3 separate regions of the Homo sapiens genome follow, and regions 2 and 3 are each linked to region 1. Evidence: promoter capture Hi-C in human tissues and cell types (Jung and others, 2019). All regions are on one chromosome and are shown on one strand. Each heading gives the region's core, a stretch centred on a gene start or on the middle of the fragment in contact. The rest is flanking DNA. Distances are from core to core; before and after follow the strand shown.

Region 1 (2,970 bases), core at 239-2,738:
GGTTTGAGTGAGTCTCCTGCCTCAGCCTCCCGAGTAGTTGGGATTACAGGCATGTGCCACCATGCCCAGCTAATATTTGTATTTTTAGTACAGATGGGGTTTTGCCATGTTGCCCAGACTGGTCTCGAACTCCCAGTCTCAAGGCATACACCCACCTTGGCCTCCCAAAGTGCTGGGATTATAGGCGTGAGCCACCACGCCTGGCCCAGTCTGTGGCATTTGTTATGACAGCCCAAGCAAAGCAACACACACCTTCCCAGCCTTCATTTCTCATTGGCATGATGCCTCCTCTTGGCCTGCTGCTGATTCCATCCTAATGCCAGACCAACAAGGCTCTGCTCACCCAGCTCTGAGCCTTACCCCAGTGCTGGCTTTGCTCTGCTCTTCCTGATCCTCTGATCTCCTTCTAGTCCTGCCCCAGGGCAACTCCACATCTGGCTATTCCTGGCTCTTACTCTTCTTTTTACCTCAACCCAGACCAGCAGCTCACCAAGCCACCAAGACTCATGGTTCCTCCTGTATGCAGCCCTTGTCTGACAGGCCACGTGGTATTGATCACTTGTGGGGTCAGAGAAAGTGGGAGGAAGTTTGAAGCATTTTAGAGGATGGCAAGAGACGGAGGCCCTTCTCCTTTTTCTCTCATTATCCCCTCCAAGAACTTCCCACAGGTTGATAAATATTGCTATGGTCCAAAACAGAAGGTGCAATTTGGCTCTATTCTCAGATTTTCCTCCTATGGGTTAGTAAAACAGATGGAAGGCTGTCCAAGTCCAAGAGAGAGCCAGACTCATTCAGAGTGATCTTTTCAATGCTCGAAAACCTGGCACAGCGCTGTCTTTACTAATTCTCACCCTGAGAGGAGACCAAAGGACTCATTGGGATAGAGGCCATGTGAGAGTGGGGATGTTAAACCAACAGCTCCCCTAGGTTGAGGCAGGTTTAGGGGTCTGCTTTGTGCACACAGACCCTATTAATATCTTATGACCCACTTGGGATTATTTGGGTGGAATTGTTTGAAGAGGAGAAAAATTCTCTTTGCTTCCTATTAAGATGCCACCAGATGATCCCCTGGCAGAGTTCTTTGGCTCCTTTCTCACAATAATGAAAAAATTATATATACACCTTATTTCCTTTTTAAAGACACTAGATATTGGGATGCCAAGGCTCAGATTGGACTGCGTGCTAAATCTCAAAATTTTCAGACAGTTTAATCTGCATAAAGACAAACAGTTTGGACTCACCTCAATGCACATCTGATCCCAGGAGGTGATGACTTTACAGCCGGCAGAAAACAGCACCACCCAAAAGAAGCAGCTGACGTCAAACGCCATCACAGGCTAGGATTGCTTGGTGGGTTTACCTAATGCTTGGAGCTGAGAAATGGAATCAAACTGTGAAGGCCCTGGCAATTTGGCAGCCAGAGAGGTACTCAGAAGGGTGATCTTGGAACAAGAAATGCTGTTGACTGCTCAGCATTCTGTGGCTCTGTGCTGGAAAAAAAAAAAAAAAAAAAAAAGGAAGTCCCTTTTGCATACCACCCATCTTTGCCAAAAATAACTGAGGACCCAACCCCAGAATGGCCCGTTGCATTTCCTGGCACTGAACATGAATCAGTTGTGCAGTCCTTTTGGGCTGATCACACAGACTCTCATTGTGATGGTTCCAATTGACTTTATGCCAACTTCAAGCATTTGGCCAACTCCAACAGCTTCTGGTCCTTTTCCCCGAGAGAGGCTGTGGAAGCTCTACTCACCAAGGAGGCCACTTTCTTAGTTGTCCTAGGTGAGTGAATAGAAGAGGTGTCAGAGAACATGGAAGGGCAGAGCACTCTGCAGGGGCAGACTGAAGAACTGAGCCCTTCAGTGGCACCTGCTGAGCTGGGAACTGGAGCAGGAGGGAGCAGGCTTGAGAGTGTATCTGCTCCTTGAGCCTCAGCTGCTGCCTTGGCCACCTTGTCCATCCCCACCTCTGGTCTTCGTATAGGGGGAAGATTACTTCATCTCTTGACCTGGCGGTTCAGGCTTGTTAAAGCAGTTGGGGTGGACTCTCTTGTTCCCTCCTAACCTGGCCTGGGGAAGTAGGGGACACTGCCATAGATAGAGCAGCCTGGCTAAAGGAGAGTAGAGTTAGGGATGCCAGCCTTGGCTCTATTTCTTCTTAGAAATAGCTTTGAAGCAGGATTACAATTACCCTTATTATGGAGCAAGATGTGGCAATGATTAAAGAAAGCCAAAGTTCAAACATTCCTCAATAGGCTGCATTTAGCTACCTGTTCTGTCTGTTCTTCAACCCTCTGGCATACAGGATATATTTGGTGTTACTGTTCTCCCACTCCATTTCCAAGAGCCCAGTTCTTAGTATCAGAGTTCACAATGACTTAACTACTGCTACTACTACTACTACCACCACCACCACCACCACCACCTCTACAGTATTACTATGATGAATCAAATGACTATAGTATCTGCCATTTATTGAGTCCTTACTATGTGTCAGACACTGGGTCAGGTTTAATGCAGTTTTTTGCTGCATTTTCCTATCCTCGAATATTTCCATATATTCTATAAGAGAGATATTATTATTTCCCTCATTTTATAGATGTAGAAACTGATGCTTAAGAGAAATTAAATGATCTCTCCAAGCCACACAATTAGAGAGTGGTAGATTAGGGCTTCAGATCCAGAAAATCTCACTGCAGAGACTATGCTGCTACTCTTCACAGTTTAAGAAAGGACTTTGCCTCCTGAAGGAGCTGAAGAGTAGATGGGGCGAAGAATGTTGTTCATCTGGAGATTTCAGAAAAGATGCTAAAAAGCAGAGGGGATTGGAGGAAATATGTACTTGGCAGTCTGCTAGGCCTGCTACACATATTTGGGCTTTTCCTGGTCACCCTTAAAATGCCATCTTCATCAACAAAATCATCTCTGAAGATGCTATCAGCAAGACACAGTCTAAGCAAACCCAGACCAA
Region 2 (3,323 bases), core at 695-3,194, 870 kb before region 1:
TTACCGCACCCCCAGTTGGGCTCCAAGTCAGCTCACAGTGTTCCTTCCAAACACGCAGAGCTAGCTGGGGATCATAGCAACATTGAATTCAGAAGTAAGTGGCTTTCTGCTGTTTCTGTCCCCAGATCTGAACAGTCCCAAGCAGAGACCCCCTAGGGAGCTCCCTCTGCCCTGGGCTTTGCTTTGAGCTCTGAATGGGGTCTATGGTGGGAGAAGAAAAGAGGGAGAAGAATTGGCATCTACTTATGGGCTTTGTACTAAGGGCCCTGCCTTATGCCAAAGGGATCCATGGAGCAGACTCAGGGCTTCTTTTACTGTGTGCTGTGTGTCCTCTTCAGTTCATTTTCCTAAAATCCAGGGCCATCCAGCTTCCAGGGTTCAGGAGAGGAATGGTTCGATGGAGATAGGACTGGGAGACAGAAGACCAGGCTCTAAAGACCAGTATGAGCTTGGCCAAGTCAGTTAACCAGCCGGGACTTAGATTTCTTCACCTGAAACAGAAGGGGCTGAGGAGAAAATGCCTCTTTCAATCACAGAATTGTGCCATTTTAGGCATGGTAAAGTCCCAGAAATCATCAAGACCAACCTCCTCACTGATGGATGAAGAAATGGGGTTGGAAGAGTCACTTCTGCACCTGCCAGGTCTGTGCTCAGAGTCACTCAGTGTGGGAACTGTCATCACTGTGATTCCTGATTGTGCACCTGCCAGGTTTGGTGCTCACCCCAAGCTTTGATGATGTTGGTGACCCAGAGTCAATTTCAGGGTTTGGTTTGAAAGTAAACTTTGGGACTTTCTGGACAGTGCCTGGCACCTAATTTGCATGTACTCCTCTATCCAGTGTAGGTAGAGTGGGTATATAAGGAGAAATTTTAAAATTTTAGGTTATTGCCAATTTCCTTACATACCTGAAGTTGTAATTTGAATGTGTCTCCTCCAAAATTCAGGTATTGAAACTTAATGGCCAATGTGACAGAATTAAGAGATGAGGTCTTGAAGAAGTGATTAGGCCAGCAGGGCTCCTCCCACATAAATGGGATTAAAGCCCTTATAAAAGAGGCCTCATGCAGCAGTGTTTGGCTTTCTTGCCCTTCTGCCTTCCACATGGGAGGATGCAGCATTCTTCCCCTCAGGAGGACACAGCAACAAGGCACCATCTTAGAAGAGAGATAGGGCCCTCACCAGCTGGCCCTTTGAACTGGGACTTCCCAGGCTCTAGAACCATGAGAAATAAGTTTGTTCTTTATAAGTTACCTAATTCCAGGTATTTTGTTAAACCAGCACAAAACTGACTAAGACTCCTGAGGAGAAGGTGAAGGGTTCATTGGTACAATACTCAGTTGGGTGGTGGTCGGAGTGGGCACTGGTTGTGTGTCCTACTCAGAGCATAGCACAATGGAGGTTGAGAGAAGATGAGAAGCGTGATGCCTGGTTGGTGATAGAAGGGTATGAGTATTCCTCAGCATAATTCCTGGTGTTACTGATTAAAGGGCTGTGGATTACTTCCGTAAAAGAGCTCAGATCTTGGACAGGTTGACTAATTCAATAAGCAGGGACACTACTGTGAGTTGTTTTCCAGGGCTGAACTGAAAGGACACTTGATTGTCCTACAATGATGGAGCTATAGAGTATGGAGACCCAAGATTAACCTTTCCAAAGCACACGCTGGGAATTACTCTGGGTGTGGGTGTGGAGAAAGGAGAGAAAAACTGAGAAACTCAGAGACAGAGTTTGAAGAGGACTTTGTAAGTGAAGGTTTTTACCATCCCTTGGTAAGTGTGTCCCTTTAAGGAAGAAAGGGGCTGGCTCCCATTTGGATCTACACATCCCTGGGGAAGATATCAGAATTTTCCATTAATAAACTTAGGAGTTTTAAGATCCATAAAGTCTATGTGGGGAATTGAGTTGGTAGTCAAACCCTTGAATTAAAGCTTGATTTCAGAGTCTCAGTAGGTGTGGGTGAGGTGAGGTGAGGATGGCATGGGTGCCTCATCTAAACAAATGAATCATGGAAAATACCTTGAATCACCTAGCCCCACCTTCCTCCCACTGCAGGAATCCCTCACACAACAGCTCAAACAGATAATCCTGTAGCTTCTGTTTCAGTTCGTGCATTGACAGGAAACTAACGAATCTCTTAACAGTGATAGGCTTCAACAACCCACTGTGGGCTGACGTTAATTGTTAGAGGCTGCTTCCTTGCATGAAATTAAATATGCCTCCTCTTGGCCATAGTTCTCCTCTCTAGAGCTAAACAATTATATTGACTTTCAACATACTGTCATTCCAAAGAGAGCTATTCAGCCCCCACCTTACTCTTCCCCCATTGTTTTCTTTTTCAGGCTAAATCTCTTCAGTTCATCCCCTTGTTGATCATAGAACATACTTCTAGATTTCTCTGAGCTCCTTTGGATGTCTTCTGATTTGTCAACATGTGCTATGGCCTGGCCTCTTTCTTCTCTCTGTAAGCCAAGAGGAACATAGCACTGGGCTTTCCTGCATGTGGCAGTTAGGAGTTTTCTGAGCCTTCTTGAATGATTTTTTTGGCACAGTCTGGCCTGCTCTGTGCCTAGTGACCATTTGTGGCTGCCCAAAGGTTGGGGAACTTTGCCCAGGTGGGAACAGTCTGACCTGGAAAGCTTCTTTCCCCAAGAAGTATAGGGGAACTAGGTTGGAAAAGACTTGCCTGTCCTCTTCAGGGATCTGTCTACTCCTTAGAATAGTCTGCACCTCTCATTTTCTCAAAGATCATGGCCCCGCTAAGGCCCAAGGCCACAGCATAGAATTAATTTTGGTCCTAAAGAAGAGTAGATAATGATCTGGCATTCCTGATCTCCATCCATCCATCCATCCATCCATCCATCCATCCATCCATCCTCACATCAATCATTTATCAGCATGCACTGAGCAATGACTTTTTCGTAGGCAATGAACTAGGCAGGGAAATAGGACCTGTGAGTTGCAGTTTCCTGCTGAGGAATCTCTCTTCTCTTCCTGAGCCCCACCCCTCTGTAAGTAGTCAGAGACTCAAAGAAGACTTAAGAAGATCCAGGAAGATTAAGGCAGAGCCTCAAGAAGGTCACAATCTAAAGTAGTTTATAGTGAAACATTTCAATGAAGGGTGATATGGTTTGGCTGTGTCCTCACTGAAATCTCATCCTGAATTGTAGTTCCCATAATCCCCACATGTCATGGGAGGGACCCAGTGGGAGGTAATTGAATCATGGGGGCAGTTGCCCCCATGCTGCTGTTCTTGTGATAGTGAGTGGGTTCTCACAAGATCGATGGTTTTATAAGGGGCTGCCCCCTTCACTGGGCACTCATT
Region 3 (3,333 bases), core at 188-2,687, 950 kb after region 1:
CATTAAAAAATGGGCAAATGTCTGCTATAAAGACACATGCACACCTATGTTTATTGCCACACTATTCACAATAGCAAAGACTTGGAACTAACCCAAATGCCCATCAATGATAGACTGGATAAAGAAAATGTGGCACATATACACCATGGAATACTATGCAGCCATAAAAAAGAATTAGTTCATGTCCTTTGCAGGGACATGGATGAAGCTGGAAACCATCATTCTCAGCAAACTAACACAAGAACAGAAAACCAAACACCGCATGTTCTCACTCATAAGTGGGAGTTGAACAATGAGAACACATGCATACAGGGAAGGGAACATCACACACCCGGGCCTGTCGGGGGGTGGGGGGCTAGGGGAGGCATAGCATTAGGAGAAATACCTAACATAGGTGACAGATTGATGCGTGCAGCAAACCACCATGGCACATGTATACCTATGTAACAAACCTGCACGTTCTGCACATGTACCCCAGAACTTAAAGTATAATAATAGGAAATAAAAAATAAATAAATAAAATGGGCAAACGACATGAACAGACACTTCTCAAAGGAAGACATAGAAACGGCCAGGTGCAGTGGCTCACACCTGTAATCCCAGCACTTTGGGAGGCCAAGGCAGGTAGATCACCTGAGGTCAGGAGTTTGAGACCAGCCTGGCCACGATGGTGAAACCCTGTCTCTACTAAAAACACAAAAATTAGCCAGGTATGGTGGCAAGTGCCTGTAGTCCCAGCTACTTGGAAGGCTGAGGGAGGAGAATTGCTTGAACCAGGGAAGTGGAGGTTGCAGTGAGCCAAGATTGTGCCATTGCACTCCAGCCTGGGCGACAGAGCGAGACTCTGTCTAAAACAAAAAGAAGAAGAAGAAGACATAGAAGCAGCTAACAAACATATGAAAAAATGCTCAACATCACTAATCATCAGAGAAATGCAAATCAAAACCACAATGAGATACCATCTCACACCATTCAGAATGACTTAATAAAAAGTCAAGAAACAGCAGATGTTGGTGAGTCTGTGGAGAAAAGGGAATGTTTATACACTGTTGGTGGGAATGTAACTTAGTTCATCCACTTGAAAAGCAGTTTGGAGATTTCTCAAAGAACTGAAAACAGAACCACCATTTGACACAGCAATTCCTTTACTGGGTATATATCCAAAGGAAAATAAATTGTTCTACCAAAAAGACATATGCACTCATATGTTCATCACAGCACTATTCACAATAGCAAAGATGTGGCTCAATCTAGGTGCCTATCAATGGTGGATTAAAGAAAATGTGATACATATACACCACGGAATACTATGCAGTCATAAAAAAGAACTAACGCATGTTCTTTGCAGCAACATGGATGCAGCTACAGGCCATTATCCTGAGTGAATTAACTCAGCAACAGAAAACCAAATACTGCATGTTCTCACTTATAAGCTGAGAGCTAAACATTGGATACTCATGGACGTAGACAGGGACAATAGAAACTGGGGACTACTAAAGGTACAGGGTGGGGACAAAAGTTGAAAAACTGACTACTGGGTACAATGCTTGGTACCTGGGTAACGGTATGATTCATACCCCAACCTCAGCATTACACACTATATCCAGGTAACAAACCTGGACATGCACCCCCTGAATCAAAAATAAAAGTTGAAAAAATAAAATAAAAATAAAGAACAAAATTAAGCAAGCAAAAATATATTCAAGAACAAATGAATGAAAAATAATCACACTACAAAGGCAATACAAAAAATAATAAACTCAGCCCCAGATAAGTAGAAATAAAAATCTGGATAAAATGTGTCATTTTTTAGAATTGACTCCCAAAGAAAGGGGAAAAAATCAAATAGGCTAATTTGTAAAAGAGAAATAGGAATACATGTGAGCTACTCCCTAAAAACATCCTTTGGCCGGGCACCCTGGCTCACACCTGTAATACCATCACTTTGGGAGGCCAAGGCGGGTGGATCACAAGGTCAGGCTTTTGACACCAGCCTGGCCGATATAGTGAAACCCCATCTCTACTAAAAATAGAAAAATTAGCCGGGCATGGTGGGGGGCGCCTGTAGTTTCAGCTACTTGGGAGGCTGAGGCAGGAGAATCGCTTGGACCTGGGAGGAGGAGGCTGCAGTGAGCCAAGATTGCGCCATTGCACTCCAGCCTGAGTGAAAGAGCAAGACTCTGCCTCAAAAAAAAAAAAAAAAAATCCTTTTATTGTTATGTTTTTTTTTTTTTCCTATTCAGATGAGTTTAAATAGTATTGGGGTTATCTGTTCCACAATAGTTTCATAACACTTAGCTATAAAACCTAATTTGGACATCACATTCTTTAGGGAATCAAATTATGATTAAAGTAGCATTACAAATCAGTGCGAAGAAAAATTAAAATTATTTATGTAATGGTGTAAGGAGAACTGGGTAGTCACTTGAGAAAAAAAACATTCAGTCAATGCCTTGCTTGTTACATTAAAAATATGTTTAAGAGAAATCAAAGATTTAAGTGTAAAAAATAAATAAAAATACCAAAATAAATTAAAAAATGTTTTTGTTTGTTTGTTTTTGAGGTGAAGTCTCACTCTTGTTACCCAGGCTGGAGTGCAATGATGAGAGCTTGGCTCACTGTAACCTCTGCCTCCTGGGTTCAAGCAATTCTCCTGCCTCAGCCTCCCAAGTAGCTGGGATTACAGGCATGTACCACCATGCCTGGCTAATTTTGTATTTTTAGTAGAGAAGGGGTTTCTCTATGTTGGTCAGGCTGGTCTCAAACTTCCCGACCTCAGGTGATTTGCCCACCTCAGCCTCCCAAAGTGTTCGGATTACAGGCATGAGCCACCGCGCCCAGACTATAAAATGGTTTTATAATCTCAGAGCATTAATTGCTTCACTATGACACAAAACCTAGAAAGTATTTTTAACTGAAAAATTAGAATACATAAAAGTCAAAATTTTCCTGTAAAAATATACCATAAACAAGATGAATAGAAAAATTATTAACTAGGTAAAAATACTGGTAGAAACATAAAAAATGGCCAATTTTCTTAATATTAATATTTAAATATTTCCTAAAAATCAATTTTTAAAAATCCAAATACCCATCAGGAAAACAACTAAAGACACAGTTCCAAAGAAGCAAATACACATGGCTCTTAAGCACATAAAATACCATTCATAATGAGAAAAGTGTAGATTTAGGCCAAGCACAGTGGCTCACACCTGTAATCCCAGCACTTTGGGAGGCAGAAAAGGGAGGATCACCTGAGTTCAGGAGTTCGAGACCAGCCTGGCCTACATGGTGAAACCCCATCTCTGCTAAAAATGCAAAAATTAGCTGAGC

The links. Contacts are between HindIII fragments. The study calls those that stand out against the background at their distance.
Region 2: a contact is called between a fragment that was not itself captured here and the fragment with the promoter of CD180 in region 1, in 1 of the 25 tissues and cell types used here (dorsolateral prefrontal cortex).
Region 3: a fragment that was not itself captured here is called in contact with the fragment with the promoter of CD180 in region 1 in 1 of the 25 tissues and cell types used here (dorsolateral prefrontal cortex).

What each region holds. Positions count from the first base shown.
Region 1 is chr5:67,195,311-67,198,280 of GRCh38, forward strand. CD180 (CD180 molecule) reads right to left here and starts at 1,489. Exons shown (of 3, transcript NM_005582.3): 1 at 1,242-1,489. The coding sequence starts at 1,331. RefSeq lists an enhancer at 313-462. The HindIII fragment of the contact is 16,000 bases long and covers 1-2,970 here.
Region 2 is chr5:66,327,243-66,330,565 of GRCh38, forward strand. No RefSeq gene overlaps it. Among named protein-coding and RNA genes, the nearest start is that of LINC02065, 120 kb to the left of the region's middle. RefSeq lists an enhancer at 1,438-2,637. The HindIII fragment of the contact is 4,246 bases long and covers 1-3,323 here.
Region 3 is chr5:68,143,604-68,146,936 of GRCh38, forward strand. No RefSeq gene overlaps it. Among named protein-coding and RNA genes, the nearest start is that of LINC02219, 45 kb to the right of the region's middle. The HindIII fragment of the contact is 9,444 bases long and covers 1-3,333 here.